Regions from separate parts of the Homo sapiens genome. Here all the other regions are linked to region 2. Evidence: promoter capture Hi-C in 16 types of primary human blood cells and fetal thymus (Javierre and others, 2016). All regions are on one chromosome and are shown on one strand. The core of a region is centred on a gene start or on the middle of the fragment in contact, and the rest is flanking DNA. Distances in the headings are between cores, read along the strand shown.

Region 1 (3,970 bases), core at 631-3,130, 340 kb after region 2:
TTTTGAGGCAGAGTCTCGTTGTGTCGCCCAGCCTGGCATGCAGTGGTACAATCTCAGTTCACTGCAACCTCCACCTCCTGGGTTCAAGCGATTCTCCTGCCTCAGCCTCCCAAGTCACTGGGATTGTAGGCACCCGCCAACCATGCCCAGCTAATTTTTGTATATTTAGTAGAGACAGGGTTTCACCATGTTGGCCAGGCTGGTCTTGAACTCCTCACCTCAGGCAGTCTGCCCACCTCAGCCTCCCAAAGTGTTGAGATTACAGGCGTGAGCCACCAGCCTCCTGCAGTTTATAGACCTGGTTGGTTGGTTCCTTCACTCCCAAGGCTGAAGGAATTTGGATTTATGTGAAGGAGGTCTGGAAGTCGTTTTCTTTTTTTTTTTTTGCTATGATACTACTTTATTAGGCAAAACCACATACTACAAAAATGCTGGAAGTCATTTTCTCTGTCCTTTCCCTTACTCCCTGGATAGTTGAAAATAAAAAAATAAGGGGGGAGGTGCACGCAGGGCTAGTTGAATTGTCCCCAGATTCTACCCTCAGAGGGCACTGGCACTTACTGAGCCGTGGATCCTCTGAATCACCCTGCATGACCCAGAGCTGTGTCCTGACGGCGTCTCCTTCTTTTGCAGGTGGTGGAGTTTGACACCCCATCGGTCCTTCTGTCCAACGACAGTTCCCGATTCTATGCCATGTTTGCTGCTGCAGAGAACAAGGTCGCTGTCAAGGGCTGACTCCTCCCTGTTGACGAAGTCTCTTTTCTTTAGAGCATTGCCATTCCCTGCCTGGGGCGGGCCCCTCATCGCGTCCTCCTACCGAAACCTTGCCTTTCTCGATTTTATCTTTCGCACAGCAGTTCCGGATTGGCTTGTGTGTTTCACTTTTAGGGAGAGTCATATTTTGATTATTGTATTTATTCCATATTCATGTAAACAAAATTTAGTTTTTGTTCTTAATTGCACTCTAAAAGGTTCAGGGAACCGTTATTATAATTGTATCAGAGGCCTATAATGAAGCTTTATACGTGTAGCTATATCTATATATAATTCTGTACATAGCCTATATTTACAGTGAAAATGTAAGCTGTTTATTTTATATTAAAATAAGCACTGTGCTAATAACAGTGCATATTCCTTTCTATCATTTTTGTACAGTTTGCTGTACTAGAGATCTGGTTTTGCTATTAGACTGTAGGAAGAGTAGCATTTCATTCTTCTCTAGCTGGTGGTTTCACGGTGCCAGGTTTTCTGGGTGTCCAAAGGAAGACGTGTGGCAATAGTGGGCCCTCCGACAGCCCCCTCTGCCGCCTCCCCACGGCCGCTCCAGGGGTGGCTGGAGACGGGTGGGCGGCTGGAGACCATGCAGAGCGCCGTGAGTTCTCAGGGCTCCTGCCTTCTGTCCTGGTGTCACTTACTGTTTCTGTCAGGAGAGCAGCGGGGCGAAGCCCAGGCCCCTTTTCACTCCCTCCATCAAGAATGGGGATCACAGAGACATTCCTCCGAGCCGGGGAGTTTCTTTCCTGCCTTCTTCTTTTTGCTGTTGTTTCTAAACAAGAATCAGTCTATCCACAGAGAGTCCCACTGCCTCAGGTTCCTATGGCTGGCCACTGCACAGAGCTCTCCAGCTCCAAGACCTGTTGGTTCCAAGCCCTGGAGCCAACTGCTGCTTTTTGAGGTGGCACTTTTTCATTTGCCTATTCCCACACCTCCACAGTTCAGTGGCAGGGCTCAGGATTTCGTGGGTCTGTTTTCCTTTCTCACCGCAGTCGTCGCACAGTCTCTCTCTCTCTCTCCCCTCAAAGTCTGCAACTTTAAGCAGCTCTTGCTAATCAGTGTCTCACACTGGCGTAGAAGTTTTTGTACTGTAAAGAGACCTACCTCAGGTTGCTGGTTGCTGTGTGGTTTGGTGTGTTCCCGCAAACCCCCTTTGTGCTGTGGGGCTGGTAGCTCAGGTGGGCGTGGTCACTGCTGTCATCAATTGAATGGTCAGCGTTGCATGTCGTGACCAACTAGACATTCTGTCGCCTTAGCATGTTTGCTGAACACCTTGTGGAAGCAAAAATCTGAAAATGTGAATAAAATTATTTTGGATTTTGTAAAACTCTTCGTGTATCAAACAATTCTCTGGGAAGGGAGTGAGATATCCCTGAATGGCTTTGGGACCTGCATATCCAGCAATGGAGTTGCATCTGGGAAGGACTGGTAGCAAAGCTGGTTGGTTGCAAGGGCCATGGGGCCCTGAACACCTGGAATCATCTCTGTGGGCCTTAGTCCCGCTGCCTGTGTTCCTGGACATGGTCCCCAAATAAAGCTCCTTGGCTGCCCATAAGAGGGTGGGGAGTGGAAAGGTGAGTGGTTGTGGTGAGGTGGGTGGTCGTGGTGAGATGTATTTAAAATGAATAGTTTATCGAGGATTCTTAGCAATTCAAACAATATAATTACCCTTTCAGCCAATTCATTCAGATTCACCCATTGAAAATTAGTAACCCCGTCTCTACTAAAAATACAAAAATTAGCCTGGTGTGGTGGCAGGCACCTGTAGTCCCAGCTACTCAGGAGGCTGAGGCAGGAGAATCACTTGAACTCGGAGGTGGAGGTTGCGGTGAGCTGAGATCGTGCCATTGCACACCAGCCTGGGCGACAGAGTGAGACTCCGTCTCAAAAAAAAAAAAAAAAAAAAAGCAAAGGGTACTCATTCTAAAGTTTCTGACTATATTGTGTTGAATGCAGCCAAGAAAGCTTTTAAACTGGTATTAGTTTGCTGGCCATCAGTAGAAATTATACTAATTTTTCTAAAGTACCTGTGCTGTCGTGAGAACCCAGGAGCTTGACTCTAAAGTTAAAACTTTAGTTCCTAGAGTGTCACATTTCAAGCGCTCAGTAGCTGTATGCGACCTGTACAACATAGTAATGTACAGTGCAGATATAGGACGTGTCGATCATTGCAGGAAGTTCTGTTGGGCAGCTCCAATCTAAACGGTAACCACTTTTACTGAGGCACTAGATTTATCTTCCAAGAAGGTAACAAGGTCAGCAGAACGAGACCCTTCAAACTGCTGGGATTACAGGCATGAGTCACTGTGCCCAGCCTAAATTGGATTTTTAAAAGCAATTTCCATTTTGCCATTTTGTGCTTTCCCAGCTCATAATTCTCTGTTGCCAAGTAGAGTAGGCTAACAGGTGTAAGAAACAAGCCCAGACTTTCAGCAGTTTACCACAGTAACCAAACTCCTGTAGCAAAGCAGTGTGGTCTGTGGAGGGGTGGAATGAAGGTTCTGCCCGTGCGTTCAGGAACCCAGTCTCCCTCCCTCCTGGTCACCCTGCAAACCTCTAGATTTGAGCTTCTCTGCTGGATCCACTGTGCTGATCAGAGAAGAGAGCACAGAATGTTGAGCAGAAAGTGTTATGAAACAGGCCTGAAAACATTAGACATCGCTTCTGTGCTCGTTTTCTTGGCTAGAACTCAGGGGCACCTGTAAGCTAAGCACTGTACTAGGTACTTCTAGCATGGCCTTACGTGATTTTCTCAACCACTTTACAAGGTAGCTAAAATTAAGCACATTTTGCTGATGAGGAAAGGCTCGTGAAGATTTAACTTGTCTCAAGCCAATATCCAGTATGAAGTGAATCACACAGAATTCAAACCCAAACAGCCTGCTCCCAGAGTTCAAGCTGTTCCTCATCTCATGACCTGAGCTTCAATTTCATCAGCAAATTCAATTTCATCAAATGCATGTGCTAGATCAGATTGCCTCTAAGATTTCTTCCAGCTCTAACTCCATGACTAGTGTGAGTCCATAACTAGGACCTGAAAAACCTGGATCCTGCTCACCTCATTTGGGACATGGCTCTAGAACTCTGCCTCTTCCTCTTTGCTTCCACTAGGGAGGTGGTGTGTACTGGGAGCAGATTTCCTCTTTTCCTGGAATCTTTTCTGTGTCCTGTTTCTTTCTGCCTGTGGCCTGAATTC
Region 2 (3,860 bases), core at 1,068-3,567:
GGGAGGCTGAGGCAGGAGAATCGCTTGAACCTGGGAGGTAGAGGTTATGGTGAGCCAAGATCGCGCCATTGCACTCCAGCCTGGGCAACGGAGCAAGACTCCGTGTCAAAAAAAAAAAAAAAAAAAAAGATGTTATGTGATTTTCTTAATTTTCCTAAAATTTTTTTCCTTCCTTCCTTCCTTTCTCTCTCTCTCTCTCTCTCTCTCTCTCTCTCTCTCTCTCTCTCTCTCTTTCTTTTATTGAGACGGAGTCTCGCCTCGCTTTGTCACCCAGGCTGGAGTGCAATGGCCCAATGTCCGCCAACTGCCACCTTTGCCACCCTAGGTCAAGCGGTTCTTGTGCCTCAGCCTCCCAAGTAGCTGGGACTGCAGGTGTGTGCCACACCTGGCTAATTTTTTTTGTATTTTTAGTAGAGACAGGGTTTTGCCATGTTGATCAGGCTGGTCTCAAACTCCTGACCTCAGGTGATCCACCCACCTCGGCCTCCCAAAGTGCTGGTATTGCAGGCGTGAGCCACTGAGCCCGGCCTCCTAAAATGTTTTAAGTACAAACGAATTAATTTTTTAAAACCATGATTATGGGTCCTTCAGTTCAAGGTCACTGAGAAAGTGGGAGTCAGGATTGGAACCCATTACTGGACAACTTCCAGTGTATGTGGAATTTTCTGGACTCTCTTCCAGTGACCCCAGTCTTCCGCCTTTATTGTCCTTCCAGTTTCAGGGCTCCTCTCACTCCAGGCTGGGCCTCCACCTCCAGCTGTGGCCCTCATCCCGGAGACTAGGACAGAGCAGAGGAGGGCTTCATAGTGATGGGCCCCCAGGCCTGGGCCCTTGAGTGAGGCTGGCATCAAGGTATCCTGTGGCATACCGCCCCCCCCATCCAGTTCCCTGGGCAGCCACCATTGCGTTTGTCCCTGTGTCTCCGGTATTAACACCTGGCGAGAAAGTGTTGGAAGGAGACCCACTACAAGGCAGCCTCACCAGCTGTGTGATTTGGTAATTTGGCCAGATTAAGGAAGGAAAGCGCGTTCGCCTGGAGTGTGGAATGAACGTACAGGGTGATCATTACCGTTTTCAGCGCTGCCGTCACTGTCGCCGCATGTGAGACACCCCCTCCTCCCCAAGGCCAGTGATTGCGCCAGAGCTCCTGCGCGCTGGCAAGCAGGTGACGCCGCGGGTGACGGCCAGCCAGGGCGGGGGTTGTGGGGGCGGGAGGCAAGGGGAGAAGAGGGCATGTTCCCATCGGTGAGGCGAGAACTCACCCGTGGTCCAAAGCAACGAGGGCGGGGGGCACCCTCCATCTCTACCGCACTCCCTCGGGGCACACACTGGCGCGCTCCGCGTCCTCAGGTGCTCCGAGCTTCCCCGCGTCACCCGCAGCCCAGGGCGCCCCCCGCGACGCCGCCATTCATTCCTCCTACACTGCGAGCGCACCACTCCAGAGCCGCGGGGGGCTACAGCCACCGGACTAGGGCTGGGGGTGTCTGCCCTGGTGCGCGCGCGTCGGCCCAGTTTCTATAGACCCCTCCTAGGAGAGACTGAAATACCCAGATTCAGGAGACGGAGACACTGGCACAGAGATACAGGAGTCAAGAATGGAGATAGATAGAGAAAGGCAGACACTTAAGGGACAGGCATAGACAAAGGCCATAACACAGCGAAAGAGATACGGGGCACAGAGACAGAGAGATACAGACACTTAGAGATGGACTGACACACACAAAGGCGGAGACAGAGACACAGACCGGCACTCAGAGGCGCACGGACCCTGACGATCTACTTAAGACCAGCAGAGCAACTAGTACAAGAGCGCGTCAGCGGCAAGGGCACCATCCCACTGGCCCGAGCTCTTCCCGCGCTGTGGGTTCGTGCCTTCCCCAGTCACCCTGTACCCGAGTCTCCTCCCCGCGCATTTCCCGCTCCCCGCTTTCCATTGCCAGCCCTGCGGCCGCCTTCCCGCCCCAACGCGCCCGGCCAGCTTTTGCCCTCCTGCTCCCAGTCCCCCTTGCACGCCTCTCCCAGCCTAGGGGTCAGACCCTCCTCCAAGCTCCTCCAGTACCAGGCTCGATCCCACCCCCCTTCGGTCCCGCCCCTCCCCGCGAGGTCCCGGCCGGGTTGGCTGGTACTATTCCCCAAGACCCACGTGCTGGCCATTCCCCGCCACAGTGCGGGAACCTCCCACTCCAGCTGCCTCTGTTCCCGGGGTAGCTGGGCGCGCTCCTGCCCCCGGCCCCGCCTCTTTCCCCTGGCCAGTGCCCGCCCCGCCTCCACCGCGCCCCGCCCGCCGTGCTCTGCCGCAGTCGGGCGCTCATCGTCATTCCGCTCTTGCCGCCGCCGCCGCCACCCCCGCCCCCCGCCCCCGCCCCCGCCCGGTCCCCGCCACCGCCGCCGCCGCCGCCTGCCCAGCGGCCCGGGAGGCGGAGGCGCGGGGGAGGAGGCCCCGCTTGGCTCCTCAGCCCCGGATGCTGCATGACTTCATCCTTCCGCCGGCTCCCCTGCTGAGGTAGGGCCGGTCCGGCAGCAAGCCCGCCGCCCGCGCCCCGCCGCAGTCCCGCTCCCGCCCCGCGCCCACCCCGCGCCCGCCATGTCCGAGATCCTGCCCTACAGCGAAGACAAGATGGGCCGCTTCGGCGCAGACCCCGAGGGCTCCGACCTCTCCTTCAGCTGCCGCCTGCAGGACACCAACTCCTTCTTCGCGGGCAACCAGGCCAAGCGACCCCCCAAGCTGGGCCAGATCGGCCGAGCCAAGCGAGGTACGCGGCCCGGGCCCGGAGTCGCCGCCTGACCCAGAAACCCTCCGCCGGGCGCCCCCCGGCTGCCGTTCCCCGCCGAGTGCCCGCAGCTCTTGCCGCAGACCAGCGCACCAGCCGCTCTCCAGCCCGGGCTGGAGGGGGGGGTCCCCGCTGCAGTGTGTGTCCCCCTCTTCCCTTCTCCCGGGAACACGGTGCCCCGGATTCGATGCTCGCCACCTCTGGAAGCAGAGCCCTGGCACCCGGGCGAGGGGGAGGGGCCGGTCGGGGCATTTGGGGCTGCACGGAAGTGGGAGCACGGGGTAACGGGCTGATTCTTTGGGATCAAATACTGAGTCGGTGGACAATACGAAGAACCTTCGGGTCGAGAGGGACGTCTAACAAGAGAGGGCAGGAGGCCGGGGGTCCGCTTGTCTTGGTTGTTTGCATGGGGAGGGGAGCTCTGTTGGTGCCAGGATCGGAAGAGGGGTTCCAGCGGCGAGAGGGCTCAGGTTGAGGAGAGGGCTGGACCAGCTGGATACTCGGTTTGAGCCCCATTTGAGCAGGGGGATCTGTTGAAGTGCGGGTTGAAGAGGGGGATTCCGTGAGCAAGAGGTTTCTGATCAACTCAGAGGGAGGAAGGCTCAGGTGGCAGGAGGGCTCGCACTGGGAGGGAGAATAGCTGGAGCCTTTGGAAGAGGGGCGTTCCGCCATCGGGAGGGGAGGGGGTCTAGGCTTGGCGGCGGGTTGGGTCTCCAGAAGAGTTCGGACGGGGAGGACACCGCGGCACAGGGTTCCGAGGGGCGTCGCTGGGCCACGGGCAGTAGCTGCGCGGGAAGCTAGGACGCGGGGCTCATTCTCATCGCCGCCGCCCCCCGAGGCCGCGCGGCTGACGCGCTTTCTCCCTGCGCAGTGGTGATCGAGGATGACCGGATAGACGACGTGCTGAAGGGGATGGGGGAGAAGCCGCCGTCCGGAGTGTAGACGCGCCGGCTCGGGCGGCGGGCTCCGGGCCCAGCCTCGCAGCGGCCAGGAGCGCGGGCCGGCGATGCGGCTGCCGGCGCCCCCCCGCCCCGGCCCAGGCGCCCGCGGGCGGGGGCTGCAGGGCCGTGCCGCCGCCGCCGCCAGGCA
Region 3 (3,907 bases), core at 540-3,039, 320 kb after region 2:
AACCCCGTCTCTACTAAAAGTCCAAAATTAGCCAGGTGTGGTGGCACATGCTTGTAATCCCAGCTACTTGGGAGGCTGAGGCAGGAGAATGGCGTGAACCTGGGAGGCGGAGGTTGCAGTGAGCCAAGATCACGCCACTACACTCCAACCTGGGTGACAGAGCGAGACTCCGTCTCAAAAAAAAAAGAAAAGAAATGCGTAACTGTAGATCCTTTAGATTTCTAGGGTCAGGACTTGAGTAATTTACTTCTTTTTTTTTTTGAGACAAAGTCTCACTCTGTTGCCAGGCTGGAGTGCAGTAGCACGATCTCAGCTCACTGTAACCTCCACCTCCCAGGTTCAAGCGATTCTCCTGCCTCAGCCTCTCACGTAGCTGGGACTACAGGGGCGCCAGCTAATTTTTTTGTATTTTTAGTAGAGACAGGGTTTCACCATGTTGGCCAGGACGGTCTCGATTTCCTGACCTCATGATCCACCCGCCTCAGCCTCTGAAAGTGCTGGGATTACAGGTGTGAGCCATCGCACCCGGCCCCTTTTTTCTCACTTTCGTTCCTGAATTGCATTCCAAAGACTGAACTTGTCTTCTTTTACTGTCCTTTTTATCCTTGTATAAGAGGTATCTTTGATTCAGTTTTCATTAGTTTTCTAGGCTCCATGCTTCTTTGGCATCAAAACTCTTCTAGCTTTTTTCCTTGCCATTAAAAAAAAAAAAACCTTTTGTCTTTTCTGGCCAATTGATTTTAAAGAACTTTCTAAGGAAGAAAAGGAAAAAGCCATTTCCTGCTTTCTGTTTGAGGGAATTACTTCACGTCAAAACAAGACATTGCTCCAGGTCTTTCATGCTGGAAGGGAATCTTTAGCCAAGCAGGGTGACTCTCCCCAAGCCTTTTTACTGTTCTCTCCCTTGAGCCCATCTGCTGCATTCGTCCCCAGGGGTACACTGCTCCCCTGAAAGCTGACTGATGTCCTTTGTTATGATTTCCCTTTAACACAGGTGAGATAGGCCAAAACAAGCACCACAACTTCATTAAACAGTAGTTAGTGACAGAAGAGAAACAAGAAAAAGAACATAGTGGCCAGGTGCAGTGGCTCACGCCTGTAATCCCAGCACTCTGGGAGGCCCAGGCTGGTGGATCACCTGACGTCAGGAGTTCAAGACCAGCCTGGCCAACATGGTGAAACCTCATCTCTACTAAAAATACAGAAAGTTAGCTGGGCGTGGTGGTGGATGCCTGTAATTCCAGCTACTCGGGAGGCTGAAGCAGGAGAATCTCTTGAACCCAGGAGGCGGAGGTTGCAGTGAGCTGAGATTGCGCTATTGCCCTCCAGCCTGAGCAACAAGAGCGAAACTCCATCTCAAATAATAATAATAATAATAATAATAACCTGATTTACACTCCGGTTCTAATAGGGCTTCTTCCAAGTTTCACGGGTAACTTGGAAACTCTCCTGTGGTCATGTCAGTCAAGGACACCATCTTGAGGACTTCACTGCCTTTCTTACCAGCACATTCCATCAGTGCAAAGGTAGTCAGATTCAGAGGACTCTAAAGTCTTCCAGTCCAGGTGGTCCAAACCTAGGCACCTTTTGTTAAACTGGAACAACTTGACCCATTGTTTCGGGCACCATTCCTTCCTTAGCTTAGATCTTAAAGCCCTGCCTCGGCCCAGAGGGAATGTCTCCTCCCCTCCTATCTGGGAAAGGGGCCAGTAACTGAGTCCCCCAACCCTGAACAGAGTCATTCATTTTTTTTTTTTTTTTTTTTTTTTTTCCTGAGACAGAGTCTCAGTCTGTTGCCCAGGCTAGAGTGCAGTGGTGCAATCTCGGCTCTGGAGTAGCTGGGATTACAGGCACATGCCACCATGCCCAGCTAATTTTTTTTTTTTTTTGTATTTTTTAGTAGAGACAGGGTTTTGCCATGTTTGCCAGGCTGGTCTCAAACTCCTGGCCTCAAGTAATCCACCCACCTTGGCCTCCCAAAGTGCTGGGATTACAGGTGTGAACCGCTGCGCCCACCGGCCTGGAGTCACTCATTTCTAGGAGGAGAACTATCCTGCTAGACGGACCAGGTTTCCTAACTCGTTTCTGGTAGAAGGATGTGAGGATTGTTGCATTAGGAAGATGGGTCCTAATACAGCTTTTTCCAAGTTTCCTGGGCGTTACTTCTTCCAAGTCTTATGGGTGTTTTTCAGGTTCCCATTAGGCTGTTAGACAGAGGTATGCCCAGGGGGTAGATCCCGACAGTGGGGTCGTGGCTGTAGACACTGGGGCAAGGCAGGCTGTTTGCGCCCTCCATGAGTGCTGAAGAGACAGCATCGTGGTGATCTCGATGAGGCCCTCACAAGAGGTCTTTCATGACATGGTGGCACGAGAAAGGTAGGAGGGTCAAGAACCAGGCGTACAGCCAAGGAAAAGTGATTCAACAGCTAAAACCCTGTAGTTCTAAATCTAAACCATGGAACCAAGTTGCAGAAAGGTAGACAGGACTATGGCAAACTTCTTTTCTTTTTGGCTCTGTAGAGAGAGCACCTTTTAAATGTTTATATCCTTTGACACAGTAATTTCAGTTCTAAGATTCTTTCCCAAGGAAATTGTCTGAGGTGGCAGTAAAGTTTCAGCACTAAGATAATAGGACATAACATTATTATAAGTTTTACATAAACTAAATGTTGACCCTTAGAGGGCTGGCTGAACAAGAATACATGCACATGATGGAATGCAACCACTAAAATTTTATCTTGAAAATTTTTTTAAAAGATGGTTGACTGAGTGTTATACAATGCTTTTGTTTTGTTTTGTTTGAAACAGAGTCTCGTTCTGTCGCCCAGGCTGGAGTGCAATGATACGATCTTGGCTCACTGCAACCTCCGCCTCCCAGGTTCAAGTGATTCTCCTGCCTTAGCTTCCCAAGTACCTGGGATTACAGGCACTCGCCATCTTGCCCAGCTAATTTTTGTATTTATAGTAGAGACAGGGTTTCACCATGTTGGCCAGGTTGGTCTCGAACTCCTGACCTCAGGTGATCTGCCCGCCTCAGCCTCCCAAAGTGCTGGGATTACAGGCATGAGCCACCGTGCCCGGCCAATGCAGTGTTAAGTGAAAAAAGCAATTACAATATTGCATTTCTGATATGATCTCAACTCTGAGGAAAGACCGAAAGGAAGTGTGCCTAAAATGATAGAAGTGAGATTATGGGAGATTGATGATGTCATCTCGTATTACTTATGTAAACTTTTCAAATGAAGATTTGGTTAACCTGTTCTGCTGATTACTGTAATAACACTGATCCCCCAAACCTGCTTCTCTGCCATAGTTTCCTATCACAGTAGGGCCATTGACAGCTACTCATTGAGTCGAGGCAAAACCTCCTTCCCGTATGTGTTTATTTATCCCTGGAACTTCTTCAATTCCCCAGCTGCTGCTGTGGCAACAGGAGGCCTTGTCTTAGTCTCTCTCTCAGCCCTAATAAGGGGGTAGGGAGAAAAAAGACATCTTGTCCTCTGGTTTGCCCCTCAACTGCTTGCTGTAAGATCTCTGTTCTCCTAACTTTGCCTAAGAAGCATTCAGCTCTGTGCACCTGTTCCTAAGGTGACCAGGAGGCATTTTTCCATTTTACTCTCATGAAAATGGAATGGTCAGCCAGGCGCGGTGGCTCACGCCTGTAATCCCAGCATTTTGGGAGGCCAAGGTGGGCGGATCACGAGATCAGGAGTTTGAGACCAACCTGGCCAATATGGTGAAACCCCATCTCTACTAAAAATACAAAAATTATCTGGGCATGGTGACGCGTGCCTGTAGTTCCAGCTACTTGAGAGGCTGAGGCAGAAGAATCACTTGAACCCAGGAGGCAGAGGTTGCAGTGAGCCGAGATCGCACCACCGCACTCCAGCCTGGGCAGCAGAGTGAG
Region 4 (3,787 bases), core at 489-2,988, 450 kb after region 2:
GCTCTCTCCTAACTTCCTCCGTAAATTCCAGCCAGCATGGCCACATGGGTCACGCCTGGTGCCTTCACACGTTTGAGGGGTCTTCGTCTCTTTTTAAAGCTTAGAGGTACAAGCTCAGGACAGTCTTCAGTAAGGAAATTTGTGGATTTCCCTTTGGATCTTTCTTCCTCTCCAGCCCACAAGTGGCTCTAGTGAGACGAGCATTTAAGCTGCAGGTGGTGGCACTCGGGTCTCAGAGCCACCAGACGTGCAGGTGGGACAGTGGTTCCAGCTCCGACTGCCTGTCAGCGTCCCTCCCAGGTGCTAGCCCTGGCAGGCACAGCCCTCCCCTCATGCCAGCAAAGGAAATGCTCTTGATGAGAGGCTCGCTTTAAAGAAGCCCAAAGCGTGTGCTTATCCAAGGGGTTCAGCTATTCCTGACTTCACGGCTTGCATGTTTGATTTTTCTAAGAGAAAAGAGGCTGCCTGCTGGGTGTCTGTGGAAATGAGATTAAAAACTGTACAATCTCAGATTTTACTAAAATGCAAAAATGTAGTTTCAGTTTCTTAAATTATAAGCACGAGTCTTCTCACGCTTGTTTTCTCCAGTCTCTTGGTGCTAAGGACTTCAGTGTGGTGCAGCTGCCGCCACACCTCAGAGGCCTGTTGATGCTGAGCACTTCTTGCTGTGGGGTGCAGAGCACATGTGGTAGGTGCAGCCCACAGAACCCACCCGTCCCCTACCCTCACCCAGGCGCCTCTCTCTGAAGCTCCTCAGGCTCTAATCCCAGCTTCACTTGCTACCTGTGAGCAACTGGGGTTCCGTTTCTTCACTGAGAAGTGACGACGCTACCAGCTACACCTTGTGGCTTGCCAAGAGCATCCGTGTTTATGGGTGGGGTGCTCAGTACAGGAAATAACTGAGGCACAGGTGTTAGGATTATTCTTTCCTGCCTTAGTCCCCCCTCCTCACTTTCCCTGGGAGCCAGCTGTGTTCCCACCTGCAGCTCCCAGCATCCTCTAGCTTGATGCCGTGTGCTCCCAGCCCCTCACCCCCCCTGGCCAACGTCACCCTGCACAGCGCCCAGATGCTTGTTTGTTCTTTTCCTATAATGGGCTGGTCAGCTCTGCTGCAGCTCAGCCAGGACCAACCGGGCCTGCCCCTTCCTGGCAGTGCTGGTGGGGCAGCCGCAGTGGAGGCCTCACCACACCAGACAGGCCTGACTGCAAGACAAACAAACAGATGGTCAAGAGCCTCTGCAATGCACAGCAGACAGCTTTTCACAGACACCAACTCCAGTGTTGCTCTGAGGGTGCATCATCATCGAGGCAGGGTCTTGCTTTGTCACCCAGTGGTGTGAACACTGCTCACTGCATCCTCAACCTCCTGGGCTCAAGTGATCCTCCCGCCTCAGCCTCTCGAGTAGTTGGGACCACAGGGGCATGCCACCATGCCTGGCTTTTTTTTTTTTGGCTGTCACCCAGGCTGGAGTGCAGTGGTGCAATCTCGGCTCACTGCAACCTCTGCCTCCCACGTTCAAGCGATATTCTCCCACCTCAGCCTCCCGAGTAGCTGGGATTACAGGCGCCCACCACCATGCCCAGCTAATTTTTGTAGAGACGGGGCGTCATGTTGGCTGGGCTGGTCTCGAACTCCTGACCTCAGATGATCCTCCCATCTCAGCCTCCCAAAGTGCTGGGATTACAGGCGTTGAGCTATCACACCCGGCCATTTTTTATTTATTTTTGTACATTTTGTAGAAACAGGGTCTCCCTATGGTTGCCCAGGCTGGTCCTGAACTCCTGGGCTCAAGCAATCCTCCTGCCTCAGCCTCCACAAAGCACTGGGATTGCAGGTGTAAGCCACTGCACCCAGCCTGGCCTCTTTATGAGGAGATGTGGGTTATGCTGAAACTCCTTCCCACTCACTTAGGTCTAAATAATCAGGCCTAACATGTTCAGCAAGTGACCCAAGAAGCAACTGAGACAGACAAGTCTCAACCATGTGGTCCCAACTCATAGCTATCTATCAATCATCTCTCACACACATACATAATACGCATATAAGACTGAAAGAAAGGCACTGAGAGATGTTAGCAGTGATTATCTTTCAGAGGAGGAATTATGAGTAGTTTTTCAAACACATTTTTTATGCTTGCTAAAGTTTCTGTAAACATTTTTATAATAATTCTGTAAAGAAAAAGTTCTTAAAAATAAAAAGCAAGCCAGGCATGGTGGCTCATGTCTGTAATCCCAGCACTTTGGAAGGCCAAGGCAGGTGGATCACTTGAGGTCAGGAGTTTGAGACCAGCCTGGTCAACATGGTGAAACCCTATCTCTACTAAAAATACAAAAATTAGCCAGACGTGCTCACTTGAACCCAGGAGGCGGAGGTTGCAGTGAGCTGAGATCGTGCCACTGCACTCCAACCTGGGCGAGAGAGCAGACTCTTTTTTTTTTTTTTTTTTTTGAGACAATGGAGTCTTGTTCTTGTCACCCAGGCTGGATGGAGTGCAATGGCACGATCTCGGCTCACTGCAACCTCCGCCTCCCAGGTTCAAGCGATTCTCCTGCCTCAGCCTCCTGAGTAGCTAGGATTACAGGCACCTGCTACCACGCCTGGCTAATTTTTATATTTTTAGTATAGACGGGGTTTCACTATGTTGGCCACGATGGTCTCGATCTCCTGACTTTGTGATCTGCCTGCCTCGGCCTCCCAAAGTGCTGGGATTACAGGCATGAGCCACCGTGCCCGGCCCAGACTCTGTCTCTAAATAAATAAAAAGCAGTTCAACATGTTAGCAAATTCCAGACAAAAGAAAATGTTAACTTTTTAATTATTTCACAACCCAAGCTGCCACTGCGGGAGCTGCCTCAAGCAGCCACGGGCTGCACTATGACGCTCTGCAGGTGGAAAGTCCTAAAGATCCTTCCGCAAGTCGAGGGGGTTTGCAGGCATTTAGAACAAGGTCTCGCCTCTCTGTGCTCCATGGTACAGAACTCCAGGACTCAGGCCACGTTCCCAAAAGCAGCTTTTGAAAAAAGCTAGGCCCTGCAGCCCACCCCAGACAAATGGAAGAACCTCCCCTTTGAACAGGGTCAAGATGATGATGAAGCCCCAAAGCCAGTTCTGTTGGCCCCGTTCACACAGGACTCCTTCCATCAATAACTTGGAGTCCAAGTCACGTAAGGTACTGCCTGTGACACTGATCTGAGCCTGCTCTCGCTCCTGCCAAAACCTTGGCTGAGACAATGAACATTTATGAAGGCAAGCCTAGGCACACCCCTCTCAGCCATCAGACTCTTTGACTCTCCATTATGACTCTCAGCAAAGTCTGGTCCCCAGAAAGTTACATACTTGGACTGTATCATAATGCCTTTGAAGAACCAAAGCTTTCAAAATCTTTCAGCTCTTACGTTTCTGGATTTTTCACTATTTCTGAGCCATATGCTAGCAGATGGTCACAGCATAAGGACCGTGTCACAGGAGTGACTTGTTTCAGTCCTCAACACAGTCCAATTTTACCCTGCCAGATAACCCGGTATGTTTCTTTGTTAGACACGAGGAGCTGATTCTCTCTCTGCCTTGGCTTTAAGGAAGCTCTGAGCTCATTTATGCAGTTTTCTTTTGCCCCAAGCTGTCAGGAATAATTATGTCCATTTCCAAATTTTTTTTAGACTTTTATGTAACTGTAATCCTTTATCTTATACGGTTGCAACATTTTTTTTTTTTTGGCAAGAAGTAGAGGAATTAATTTAAACATATCAATAAGACTCTACACCATCACCTCATCCCAGTGCAGGGAGA
Region 5 (3,878 bases), core at 425-2,924, 360 kb after region 2:
GCCTGCCTCAGCCTCCCAAAGTGCTGGGATTACAGGCATGAGCCACCGCGTCCGGCCAATATTTATTTATTTTTGAGACAGAGTCTTGCTCTGTCACCCAGGCTAGAGTGCATTGGCACGATCACGGCTCACCACAGCCTCTATCTCCCAGCTCAATCGATCTTCCCACCTCACCCTCCCGAGTAGCTAGGACTACAGGCATGAGCCCCCATGCCTGGCTAATTTTCGTTGTTTTTGTTGTTGTTGTTGCTTTGTTTTTTTGCAGAGATGCAGTTTCACCATGTTGCCCAGGTTGGTCTCGAGCATAGTTGAAGATGATAGCTCTCTGGTGATCCAGCTTGAGATAGCTTTCCGAGCAGATTTTTGACGTGAGCTGGACAATAACATGAGGACACCTGCTCTTTGCCCAGGCTTGCTGTGTGCTGAGGGCTTTGTGCCCACGGTGTCATTCGGTACAATGGTGCTCTGTATTGTTGACGGAGCCTTGCAGATCCTAGATGACAGATGTTGAATTACTTACCTATCTTACTGTGTAACAAATTACCCCAAAACTTAGTGGCTTAGAACAACAGCATTTATCATTTCACAGTTTCTGAGGGTTAGGAAAATGGGTGTGGCTCAGCTGGATGCCTCTGACTCAAGGTCTCTCATGAGGTTACCATCAAGTTGTTGTTGGGGCTACAGTGTCACCTGAAGACTCCCCTAGGGGAGGCTCCACTTCAAGCTCACTTACATGGAGGTCTTCAGGACCCGGTTGCTCATGAACTGTTGGCTGGAGACCTTCAGTTCCTTGACACATGGGCCTCTGCATAGGGTAGCTCAAAACATGGCAGCTGAACCCCATCAGAGAGAGCAAGCAAGAGGGCACCCAAAATAGAAGCAATGGTCTTTTTGTAACCTAATCTTAGATGTGATATCCCATTGCTTTTGCCATATTCTTTTTTTTTGAGACAGAATCTCGCTCTGTCACCCCAGGCTGGAGTGCAGTGGTGCAATCTCAGCTCAGTGCAGCCTCTGCCTCCTGGGCTCAAGCAATTCTCCTGCCTCAGCCTCCCGAGTAGCTGTGATTACAGGCATGTGCCACCATGCCTGGCTAATTTTTGTATATTTTAGTAGAGATGGAGTTTACCATGTTGGCCAGGCTGGTCTTGAACTCCTGACCTCGAGTGATTGGCCTGCCTCAGCCTACCAAGGTGCTGGGATTACGGGTGTGAGCCACCGCACCCGGCCGCTTTTGCCATATTCTATTTGTTGGGTTTGTTGTTGTTGTTGTTGTTGGTTTGAGACAGTGTCTCCCTCTGTTGCCTGGGTTGGAGTGAAGGGACACAATAATAGCTCACTGCAGCCTCAACCTCCCAGGCTTGGGTGATCCTCCCACCTCAGCTGCCTGAGTAGCTGGAACTACAGGCACCACATTGTGCCACCACAATGGGCTAATTTTTAAATTTTTGGTAGAGATGGGGTTTCACCATGTTGCCTAGGTTGGTCTCAAATTCCTGGGCTCAAGTGATCCTCCCACCTTGGCCTTCCAGAGTGCTGGGATTCCATGCATGAGCCACTGCGTCTGGCCCATTTTCTATTTGTTAGAAGTGAGTTACTAAATCCATCCTATCCTCAAGGGGAGGGGATTACACAAAGGTGTGTATCCTGGGAGTCAAGGCTAACTGGGGTAACTATCGGGGAATCTGTCCCGATAGTCACGTAGGTTCTTTTCTGTTTTTCCTAAGCGTCGGCCAGCTTGAGAAATAAAGGGACGAGTACAAAAGAGAGAAATTTTAAAGCTGGGCGTCTGGGGGAGACATCACGTGTCGGTGGGTTCCGTGATGCCCCACAAGCCGCAAAAACCAGCAAGTTTTTATTAGGGATTTTCAAAAGGGGAGGGAATGTGCAAATAGGTGTGGGTCACAGACATCAAGTACTTTACAAGGTAATGGAATATCACAAGGCAAGTGGAGGCAGGGCAAGATCACAGGACCACAGGACTGGGGCAAAATTAAAATTGCTAATGAAGTTTCGGGCACCATGGTCATTGATAACATCTTATCAGGAGACAGGGTTTTGAGAGCAACTGGTCTGACCAAAAATTTATTAGGCGGGAATTTCCTCTTCCTAATAAGCCTGGGAGTGCTATGGGAGACTGGGGTCTATTTCACCCCTATAGCCTCGACCATAAGAGACAGGCACACCTAGGGGGGCCGTTTATAGGCCTATACCCCCAGGCGCGTATTCTCTTTCCCAGGGATCTTCCTTGCTGAGAAAAAGAATTCAGTGATATTTCTCCCATTTGCTTTTGAAAGAAGAGAAATATGGCTCTGTTCCACCCGGCTCATCGGTGGTCAGAGTTTAAGGTTATCTCTCGTATTCCCTGAACAATTGCTGTTATCCTGTTCTTTTTTCAAGGTGCCCAGATTTCATATCATTTAAACAGACATGCTCTACAATTTGTGCAGTTAATGCAATTATCACAAGGTTCTGAGGCAACATACATCCTCCTCAGCTGACAGGATTAAGAGATTAAAGTAAAGACAGGCATAGGAAATCACAAGGGTATTGACTGGGGAAGTGATAAGTGTCCATGAAATCTTTACAATTTATGTTTAGAGATTGCAGTAAAGACAGGCATAAGAAATTATAAAAGTATTAATTTGGGGAACTAATAAATGTCCGTGAAATCTTCACAATCCAGGTTCTTCTGCCATGGCTTCAGCCAGTCCCTCCGTTCGGGGTCCCTGACTTCCCGCAACAGGTAACATACCAACATGTGTAGGTGGTGAGGTTGCCATTTTAATGAAAATGAAACAGAGCGACTCATCTTGGTGCCCTGGTGCAGGGTGATGCCTCTGTACATAGAGGTGGTGGCGGGAGCCCTGAGACTTTCCTCGGAAAGGAGCTTTGGCTCTGCCCCGAGTACTGCCCTGGAGTACAGTGGTGTGATCTCAGCTCACTGCAGCCTCCACCTCCGGGGCTCAAGCAATTCTCCCACCTCATCCTCCCAAGTAGCTGGTATTACAGGCACGTGCCACCACGTCCAGCTAATTTTTATTATTTTTATTTTTTTTTTAATTTGTAGTAAAGACGGGGTTTCACCAGGTTGGCCAGGCTGGTCTTGAACTCCTGCCTCTGCCTCTCAAAGTGCTGGGATTACAGGCATAAGCCGCCATGCCCAGCCCCATTATTAACTTATTATTAATTTGCCCAGACTTGAGGTTCCTTCCTCCACAGATTTTTTTCTTCACAGAAGCCCTATCCTTCGGACGCTTTGTTGCTGTTTCTTTTCCATAGATAGAGAAACTTCAGCATAGGCAGCTTAAGAAACTGCCCAAACACAGCTAGTAAGTGACTTAGCTGAGTTTCAAATGCATGTCCCTCTGACTCTAAAGTGTTTTCTTTTCCTACCATATGCCCTGCTGTTTGTATTTATACGAAAATGCCACTCTAGGTAAGTGAACCAATGTGTTCAATGGAGATGTTTTACACTGTCATTCTGTCCTTGGCAGAAATTGGCCAGCAAGTTTACAGGTTTGTCAAGAGTCTCTGGGAAAGTGGATAGGACCAGGGCATCAGGTCATCTTGCTGCTGGCGTGGCAGAAGGACCCAGGCCCAGGTTGTCTAGAAGCTGTGCCAACTTAAGTTAAAAAGAGGGGGCCAGGGTACTGCTCTGTGTTATGCCGTTTGGGATTAGAAATTTCCTTATTAAGAGCTCATTCCTGCCAATTTGATTCTAGGACTTGTTCTGTGATAAAGGCTCCAGGGGCCCATTAACGAGCTGAAATCAATATTGAGCTTTTACAACTTGGACGAGAGATGTCTGCTGAAAGTGGAATCAAAGCTTGACAGTAGATCATTAAATGTTACAGATATTCCTAAACTGTTCCTAA
Region 6 (3,636 bases), core at 348-2,847, 400 kb after region 2:
TAACGAAATTAAGATTTCTTTAGGGTGGCAAGGTTTTGCCTTCACTATTTTCAAAGCATTTCACTATTAGTTTATACCTCACATTCTTTGAAGGTGGTCATGATTTTATGCCATTTAACATATGAAGAAGCCTAGCATCAGAGTTTAAAACCTTTTCTCATGCTGGTGAATACTTTCTTCAAAGAAGCTAGAGGTAATTAAAAATCAGAATTCTTTCCCCCTAGTCTTTTTCTTTTTTGAAATCAAATCAGCCATTTGGCATGAAGAGCGTAGCAGTAGAGAGAGATGCTTGTGATCTGTCTTGCAACTTGAATGTAAGCTGCTTTGAACAACATAAATGTGAATGGTCATGCTGCAGGTCTTAAATCTTTATTGTTAGATTATCCAAGTGACTTTAACCTCAGGAAATGCCATTTGAACTGTCTTGTGTCACCTCAGACTTTTCTTGTAGGAAATAATTATTCTAGTAATAGTGATTCTAGCTTTACAATGTCTGTAAGTGGTGCTTAATCAATTACCTATATATGAGAGTCTCAAGAATAAACTGTTTATTTAGTATGTCTTGTCTTCTTCCTGGGGTGCCAATTAGTCCAGCTTTCCTTGCTGAGCACTCCTGATTGCTTCTTGTAGACTGCAAAGTGAAGTTGGCTCAGCTTCTGGTTTTAATCAGTGATAGATTTATGGGGTGACAGGTCTACTCCGTCCCACTTTCTTTCTTTGGATTGGAGATGTTTTCCGAATGGGTTTTTTTTTTTTTCGTTTTATATTTTGAAAGAACTTGACAAGTTTGACCTAGAGAGTTTTTAAAGCTTTGTGAGACCAGTGTGCCTCTCTGCTTTGTAGTATTCATACCTAGACAATGGCAGCATGAAAGCTCTAGTCGGTTAAAGATTTCTCACTGCTACACCAAACACTTCATGTAAGTATTCCTTGCCATTGAATCTGTTGAGCTCTTGAATTTGGATGGAAAGATTTTGGATACGGTAAGTTCAGACAGTAAAGTGTTAATCCAAATATACATAGTTTCTGAGTTTCAGAGAATGAGGGGTATCTCAAATTTATCCATGTCTCTTTGGTTCCTAGGTATAGGTAAGAACAGTCAGATTGTAAGGCATACCCATAATTTATTTTATTGTTAAGGTGGCATCTGGTGGTGAGGTAAAAAACCCCTTTCTAGCTGGGTGCAGTGGCTCATGCCTGTAATCCCAGCACTTTGGGAGCACTTTTGGGAGGTGGATCACCTGAGGTCAGGAGTTGGAGACCAGCCTGGCCAACATGGTGAAACCCCATCTCTACTAAAAATACAAAATTAGCTGGACGTGGTGGTGCATGCCTATAATCCCAGCTACTTGGGAGGCTGAGGCAGGAGAATCGCTTGAACTTGGGAGGCAGAGGTTGCAGTGAGCCGAGATCATGCCATTGCCCTCCAGCCTGGGCAGTAGAGTGAGACTCTGTCTCAAAACAACAACAAAAACCTCCCCTTCTTACAGCTGATGCCAGGTTTGGAGTCTGTAGTTTTGTTTTTGTTTTTGTTTTGAGATGGAGTCTTGCTCTGTCACCCAGGCTGGAGTGCAGTGGCGTGATCTCTGCTCACGGGCAAGCTCTGCCTCCTGGGTTCACGCCATTCTCCTTCCTCAGCCTATAAGTGCCCGGCTAATTTTTTTGTATTTTTAGTAGAGACGGGGTTTCACCGCGTTAGCCAGGATGGTCTAGATCTTCTGACCTCGTGATCCACCGCCTCGGCCTCCCAAAGTGCTGGGATTACAGGCGTGAGCCACCGCGCCCGGCGAGTCTGTAGTTTTTGACTGTTCTGTCTCAATCTGTCTGTGCAAATCCCTTTTTAAAGCTATGCTAGGAAACTTGTTTTAATCCTTTTTTTTTGGTTTGTTTGGGGATTTTTTTTTTGGTCTTAATTTTTATTACACAGAAATAATCTCCCCAGGCTTCATATTGCTCTGAAAAAGTGTTTATAAGCCCACTAGGTATTTGTGGGGCAAGCGGGGAGTATAACGTGGCATTCTTCAAACTTAAATTTGTCATCCCTGGTGCTTTTATATTTCACCTAATTTTCTGTTCTATTGCCCTGATCTGTCAGCCTTTTAAGCCTCTCCTAGAGGTCCCCAGGCAACCCCCAGAGAGAATATTTTCTCCTCCCTTTCTAGCTTTCAGGGTTGTCTTTGAGGCACTTGCCAGGTTTTCCTGTTAGTTCAAGAGAATGCTGACTTTACTGTATTGAGATTCAGGTAAAGCCACAGGAAAAAATCAGCTAAATTATTATTTTTGATCAAGAAGGAGCAAGGACAGAAAAGGATAGGGAGAGAGATCGCAAGAAAACTGTGCCGTAGTTCCTCTACTAGTGTATTTTTTGTCAGCTCCAAAGCTTAGTCACTACTACTCTCCAGTCTTTGACCCCTTGCCCCAACTTCTAAAGTCTATTCTTTTTTCTTTGCTGTTCTGTTTCTGCCAGGCTTATTCTTTTTCATTTCAGTTCTCTCTCTCCTTGTACCTTTTCAAGGTTTTGAGCTGTCTTCCCAGACTAAGGCCTCCTTACCTATTCCTGATGTTGCTGGTAAGGCAATGTTTTCCTTGGTCTTATAGCCCATCTTTACCTTTTAATCAGAATCAGTCACTGTTTTTCTGTAACTCCTGACTTCCCAGTCTGCAAACAAGTTATTTTTGTAGAAGAATAGCAAAGTTAATCCTTGAGTGCCAACCACACTTCAAGTATCATGCTATGTGCTTTACATGCATTTCTATTATTATTAGTCATCATAAGAACCCTGTTATCCTCATTTCTCAGATGGGGCAAGGAACGGCCAAGTAACTGCGATCACACAGCTAGAACTGGGTGGATTCGGGAATCAAATCCACTTCATGTATCAAAGAATAGGGTTTTTATTATGTCCTTTTCACTTTTCTAGAATAGCAAACCACCATTAATTACCTTTCTGATAAACCACACTGCCTCCCCCTATCAAGTATCTGGGTGCTGATTCACAGCACAAATTGCAGCAAATTGTTCCAAAGTAGCAGCCTACCCCCAGGGAGGAAAGGGAGCCCTTTTTGACTGCCTAGACTAGATTTTGTCATTGTAAAATGAATAAATATGCATGGTAGCAGATGAAAATTGGAATAGAGGATACATAAAGTGAAAAATAAGTCTTTCTCTCACTCTGAACTTCCAGTTCTGCACTTTTCCTTTCCCATAATAACCATTGCATGTTTAGTTACTTGTGTGTTCTTCCAAAGCATCTATTTATATATAGGCATTTATATCTATCTGTGGTTTAACACAAAAATAGAAACATGCAGTACATACTCTTCTGCACCATGATTTTTTTTCACTTAATATTTTAAAGAACATTCTATATCAATACAAGTAGGTTTGTTACATTCTTTTTAATATTTTATTGAGGTATAATATACATAGAAGAATGTGAATATGTCAGATGTACAACTCAACTAATTAATTTTCACAGGCTGAGCACATCCATGTAACCAGCACCTGGATTGATAAATGGAAATTACCAGCACATCAGGCTTTTTTGTTTGTTTTGGTTTGTTTTGAGACAGCGTCTCACTTGTCACTCAGGCTGGAGTGCAGTGGCATGATCACGGCTCACTGCAGCCTCAACC
Region 7 (3,494 bases), core at 296-2,795, 430 kb after region 2:
GTGTCACTCTGTCGCCCAGGCTGGAGTACAGTGGCTCAATCTTGGCTCACCACAACCTCAGCCTTCCGAGTAGCTGGGACTACAGGCGCCCACCACCACGTCTGGCTAATTTTTGTGTTTTTAGTAGAGACGGGGTTTCACTATGTTGGCTAGGCTGGTCTTGAACTCCTGACCTCAGGTGATCCACCTGCCTCGGCCCCTCAGAGTGCTGGGATTACAGGCGTGAGCCACCGTGCCCGGCTACAATTATAGTCTCTTGCACAGAAGCCAGCTTGGTCAAAATTCAGGTCTTCTTGGGTCCTCCTTTTGAGGAGTGTTCATGCTGTCCTTCCATCTTGCAGTTACCCTGACTTCTAAGAATGCAACCCGAGCTTGTTTCCCTGTTGAGGCCACTTGGCAGTTATATGAGGGACTGGGGACATCTGAGATCTCTGGGACTCATAATAATTTTCTTTAAAGTTTTAGTAATTCCCCAAATGTAAGATAATCTTGTATTCTGAAGCAACCCGTCACATAGAAGACATTAAGAAAACATTGATTAAGAGAGGTAGATGCTATTTTCCAGAAACAACCGTTTTTATATGAAAAGGTAGGAACCTTTCTTTTTAATGATAGGGGCTTCTTTCAAAAGTTATTTTGCTCTTAGGTGTCTTTTTTTTTTTTTTAAACATCTCATTCATAAATAATTAAAAACTTATGGAAAGTTGCAGGAAATAGTACAGAGGACTCCCATAAAGTCTTTTTTGTTTGTTTGTTTTGTTTTGTTTTGAGACAGAGTCTCGCTGTTTTACCCAGGCTGGAGTGCAGTGGGACAATCTCGGCTCACTGCAACCTCTGCCTCCCGGGTTCAAGCAATTCTCGGGCCTTAGCATCCTAAGTAGGTGGGATTATAAGCATCCGCCACCACGCCCAGCTAATTTTTTTTTTTTTTTTTTTTTTTGTATTTTTAGTAGAGACGGGGTTTTACCACGTTGGTCAGGCTGGTCTCAAACTCCTGACCTCAGGTGATCCACCTGCCTCGGCCTCCAAAAGTGCTGGGATTATAGGCGAGAGCCACTGCACCCAGCCCCATGTAGTCTTTTTAAAAAGCAGGCAACTCAGGTTTACTAGTTAACATGCAAAAAACTGCACATATTTAAAGTTTGGTAAGCTTTGACATGTAGACACCCGTGAAACCATCACCACACTCAAGATCATGGACATATTCATCCCAAAAGCTTCCTAGTGGTCACTCCTTCCTGCCCCTCCTCTACCCCTGGCGACAACTTACCTACTTCTACTAAAGATAAATTAGTTTGCAAATGGAACCATACAGCATATACTAGTATTTGTTGTCCTGGCCTCATTTACTCTGTATAATTACTTTGAGACTCATCCATGTTCTGTGTATCAGTTTATTCCTTTATTATTTTTGAGACAGGGTCTTACTCTGTTGCCCAGGCAGGAGTGCAGTGGTGCAATCATAGCTCACTGTAACCTTGACCTCCTGGGCTTAAGGGATCCTCATGCCTCACACTGTGCTGGAATTACAGGCGTGAGCCACCACACTGGCAATGTTTTGTTTCTTTATGAAGATGAATAAAGATTTCACATGAATTTTTTAAGATGAAACATGCTTCATGCATGCAGGTTTCTTTGGGCGTATTCATGCCCACTCCCTCTGGTTGGAGCTTTGTCAGAGAAGTGTGAGCAGTTCTTTCCTAGGCCATAGGTGAAAGATGCGCATGACACGCTTAGCACTGTCCTTGCGGTTCATGAGGCACATACATCTTACTGCCCCGTAGTAAAAATTCAGTCTTTCCAAGCGATTACTGTGTGAAGGACATTTAGTTCCTTCACCTATTATTGGGGACATAAGTAACTGAAAGCTTTGAAGCTTTGTGCTCACCTAGAAATGTGCAGCATGTAAACTTTCTAGAAAATGTGCTGCTCTTTAGACCTTGTAGCCACTAAGCAGTTGCATATTGAGTTTCCCATTCTCCCTGCTGTGTTACTTTGCAGTCTGGTGCCATCATGACAGTCCTCGCAGCTGTCTGCACTAAGATCCCAGAAGGGAGGCTTGCCATTATTTTCCTTCCGATGTTCACGTTCACAGCAGGGAATGTAAGTATTTTTATGAAGTGCAGTGCTGGGGATAGTGGTGATGTTTTTATGTTGAGTGGGTTCTTGCCCTTAAGTTAGAAATGTCAGTGCTGGAGCAATCACAGTTGTGCCGCTTGTTTCTTGCTGCCTTTCAGGCCCTGAAAGCCATTATCGCCATGGATACAGCAGGAATGATCCTGGGATGGAAATTTTTTGATCATGCGGCACATCTTGGGGGAGCTCTTTTTGGAATGTAAGTTTGAGTGTAATTGATTGCTAAACTGCTTCCTTGGGTCATGCGCTCCTCCTACCCCAGCCTCACCCCTACCCCCCATCCCCATGGCAGAGACATTGAACTATGCAACGGAAGCAGAAGCAGGTGGGCTTGGGAGGGTGAGGAAACCTCAACGTGGCTTGCTTTGGGTTTACCCAGCATACCTGGCTCATTGTAGAGACAGTCTGTGCCTTTACCCTACGCTTAACCTTAAGTTGCCCCAACTGTTGGCCTGTTATTCCCAGCCCCCTCTTAGAAGACTGCAGCCTGGCCCCCAGTCTATGCTGACATCTTCTTTTTCCCCTTCAGACTTTCCTGCCCTCCTCTCCCCTGCCTGGCGTCCCACCCTGCTACCCTGACCTCTGTCTCGCCAGTGCTATTTAGACATGCTGAGTTGGCGGAGCCATTGCTCTGTATGACTGGAGTAGAGGCCGGTGACTGCAAACCAATGTGGACCACTTACTGAGTACCCGCTGTATGCAGGCACCAAGCTAGTTCCCTTATGTTATACTATTACTACTCCCATTTTACTGATGGGAAACTGAGGCTCAGACATCATCTTCCCCAGGCCAAACAGCTCTTCAATAGCAGAGCAGAGCTGTAAACCCACCTCTATAAGCCCTTTCCACCCCCACCACACCATATGGAATTGGTTGCTAAACTGCTTCCTTGGGTCACAGCAAATGGCATTGTGGTTACAAGACCTTCCACGTGTGCTTCAAACAATGGGGTTTTGCCTAGACTAGTGCTTAGTAGTAACTGTATCACGGAAACACGGTCAGGACTCTTGGCGTCCATCTGATCGTGGGAGACCCGTCAGCATGAGCTGGATCCCCTCGGGGCCTGTCTTTTCTTACATAAATGTTGCCTTTTGCCCTTACTTGGTTTTTATTTTGTTCCGCGACAATGGAAAACTTAATTTTTTTTTTTATTAAAAAGAAAAATCTATTCTGGCCAGGTGCAGTGGCTCACGCCTGTAATCCCAGCACTTTGGGAGGCCAAGGCAGGCGGATCACAAGGTCAGGAGATCGAGACCATCCTGGCTAACACAGTGAAACCCCGTCTCTACTAAAAATACAAAAAACTTAGCCGGGCGTGGTGGCGGGCGCCTGTAGTCCCAGCTACTCGGGAGGCTGAG

The links. Contacts are between HindIII fragments. The CHiCAGO score rates a contact against its expected background, and 5 or more counts as called.
Region 1: a fragment that was not itself captured here is called in contact with the fragment with the promoter of CAMK2N2 in region 2 in 6 of 17 cell types (M1 macrophages, M0 macrophages, M2 macrophages and 3 more); the score reaches 13.0 in M1 macrophages.
Region 3: a contact is called between a fragment that was not itself captured here and the fragment with the promoter of CAMK2N2 in region 2, in 5 of 17 cell types (M1 macrophages, M0 macrophages, M2 macrophages and 2 more). The highest score is 8.0, in M1 macrophages.
Region 4: a fragment that was not itself captured here is called in contact with the fragment with the promoter of CAMK2N2 in region 2 in 1 of 17 cell types (M0 macrophages); the score reaches 6.4 in M0 macrophages.
Region 5: a fragment that was not itself captured here is called in contact with the fragment with the promoter of CAMK2N2 in region 2 in 17 of 17 cell types (M1 macrophages, M2 macrophages, M0 macrophages and 14 more); the score reaches 27.4 in M1 macrophages.
Region 6: a fragment that was not itself captured here is called in contact with the fragment with the promoter of CAMK2N2 in region 2 in 1 of 17 cell types (endothelial precursors); the score reaches 5.3 in endothelial precursors.
Region 7: a contact is called between a fragment that was not itself captured here and the fragment with the promoter of CAMK2N2 in region 2, in 4 of 17 cell types (M1 macrophages, erythroblasts, megakaryocytes and 1 more). The highest score is 6.6, in M1 macrophages.

What each region holds. Positions count from the first base shown.
Region 1 is chr3:183,918,065-183,922,034 of GRCh38, reverse strand. It overlaps ABCC5 (ATP binding cassette subfamily C member 5), which reads left to right. Exons shown (of 30, transcript NM_005688.4): 30 at 634-2,101. The coding sequence ends at 735. Among named protein-coding and RNA genes, the nearest start is that of MIR4448, 33 kb to the right of the region's middle. The HindIII fragment of the contact is 1,722 bases long and covers 1,020-2,741 here.
Region 2 is chr3:184,260,010-184,263,869 of GRCh38, reverse strand. CAMK2N2 (calcium/calmodulin dependent protein kinase II inhibitor 2) reads left to right here and starts at 2,317. Exons shown (of 2, transcript NM_033259.3): 1 at 2,317-2,753; 2 at 3,643-3,860. The coding sequence starts at 2,585. The coding sequence ends at 3,713. The region is part of intron 2 of EEF1AKMT4-ECE2 (EEF1AKMT4-ECE2 readthrough); the gene reads right to left. RefSeq lists enhancers at 463-1,225, 3,111-3,662, 3,663-3,860. The HindIII fragment of the contact is 12,942 bases long and covers 1-3,860 here.
Region 3 is chr3:183,938,327-183,942,233 of GRCh38, reverse strand. The region is part of intron 25 of ABCC5 (ATP binding cassette subfamily C member 5); the gene reads left to right. Among named protein-coding and RNA genes, the nearest start is that of MIR4448, 53 kb to the right of the region's middle. The HindIII fragment of the contact is 7,094 bases long and covers 1-3,907 here.
Region 4 is chr3:183,812,666-183,816,452 of GRCh38, reverse strand. It overlaps MAP6D1 (MAP6 domain containing 1), which reads left to right. Exons shown (of 3, transcript NM_024871.4): 3 at 1-531. Among named protein-coding and RNA genes, the nearest start is that of YEATS2-AS1, 4.1 kb to the right of the region's middle. The HindIII fragment of the contact is 3,273 bases long and covers 102-3,374 here.
Region 5 is chr3:183,898,283-183,902,160 of GRCh38, reverse strand. It overlaps the pseudogene CYP2AB1P. Among named protein-coding and RNA genes, the nearest start is that of MIR4448, 13 kb to the right of the region's middle. The HindIII fragment of the contact is 4,315 bases long and covers 1-3,831 here.
Region 6 is chr3:183,857,178-183,860,813 of GRCh38, reverse strand. The region is part of intron 4 of PARL (presenilin associated rhomboid like); the gene reads left to right. Among named protein-coding and RNA genes, the nearest start is that of PARL, 26 kb to the left of the region's middle. The HindIII fragment of the contact is 1,571 bases long and covers 812-2,382 here.
Region 7 is chr3:183,832,333-183,835,826 of GRCh38, reverse strand. It overlaps PARL (presenilin associated rhomboid like), which reads left to right. Exons shown (of 10, transcript NM_018622.7): 8 at 2,002-2,103; 9 at 2,238-2,335. Among named protein-coding and RNA genes, the nearest start is that of MAP6D1, 8.5 kb to the right of the region's middle. The HindIII fragment of the contact is 651 bases long and covers 1,220-1,870 here.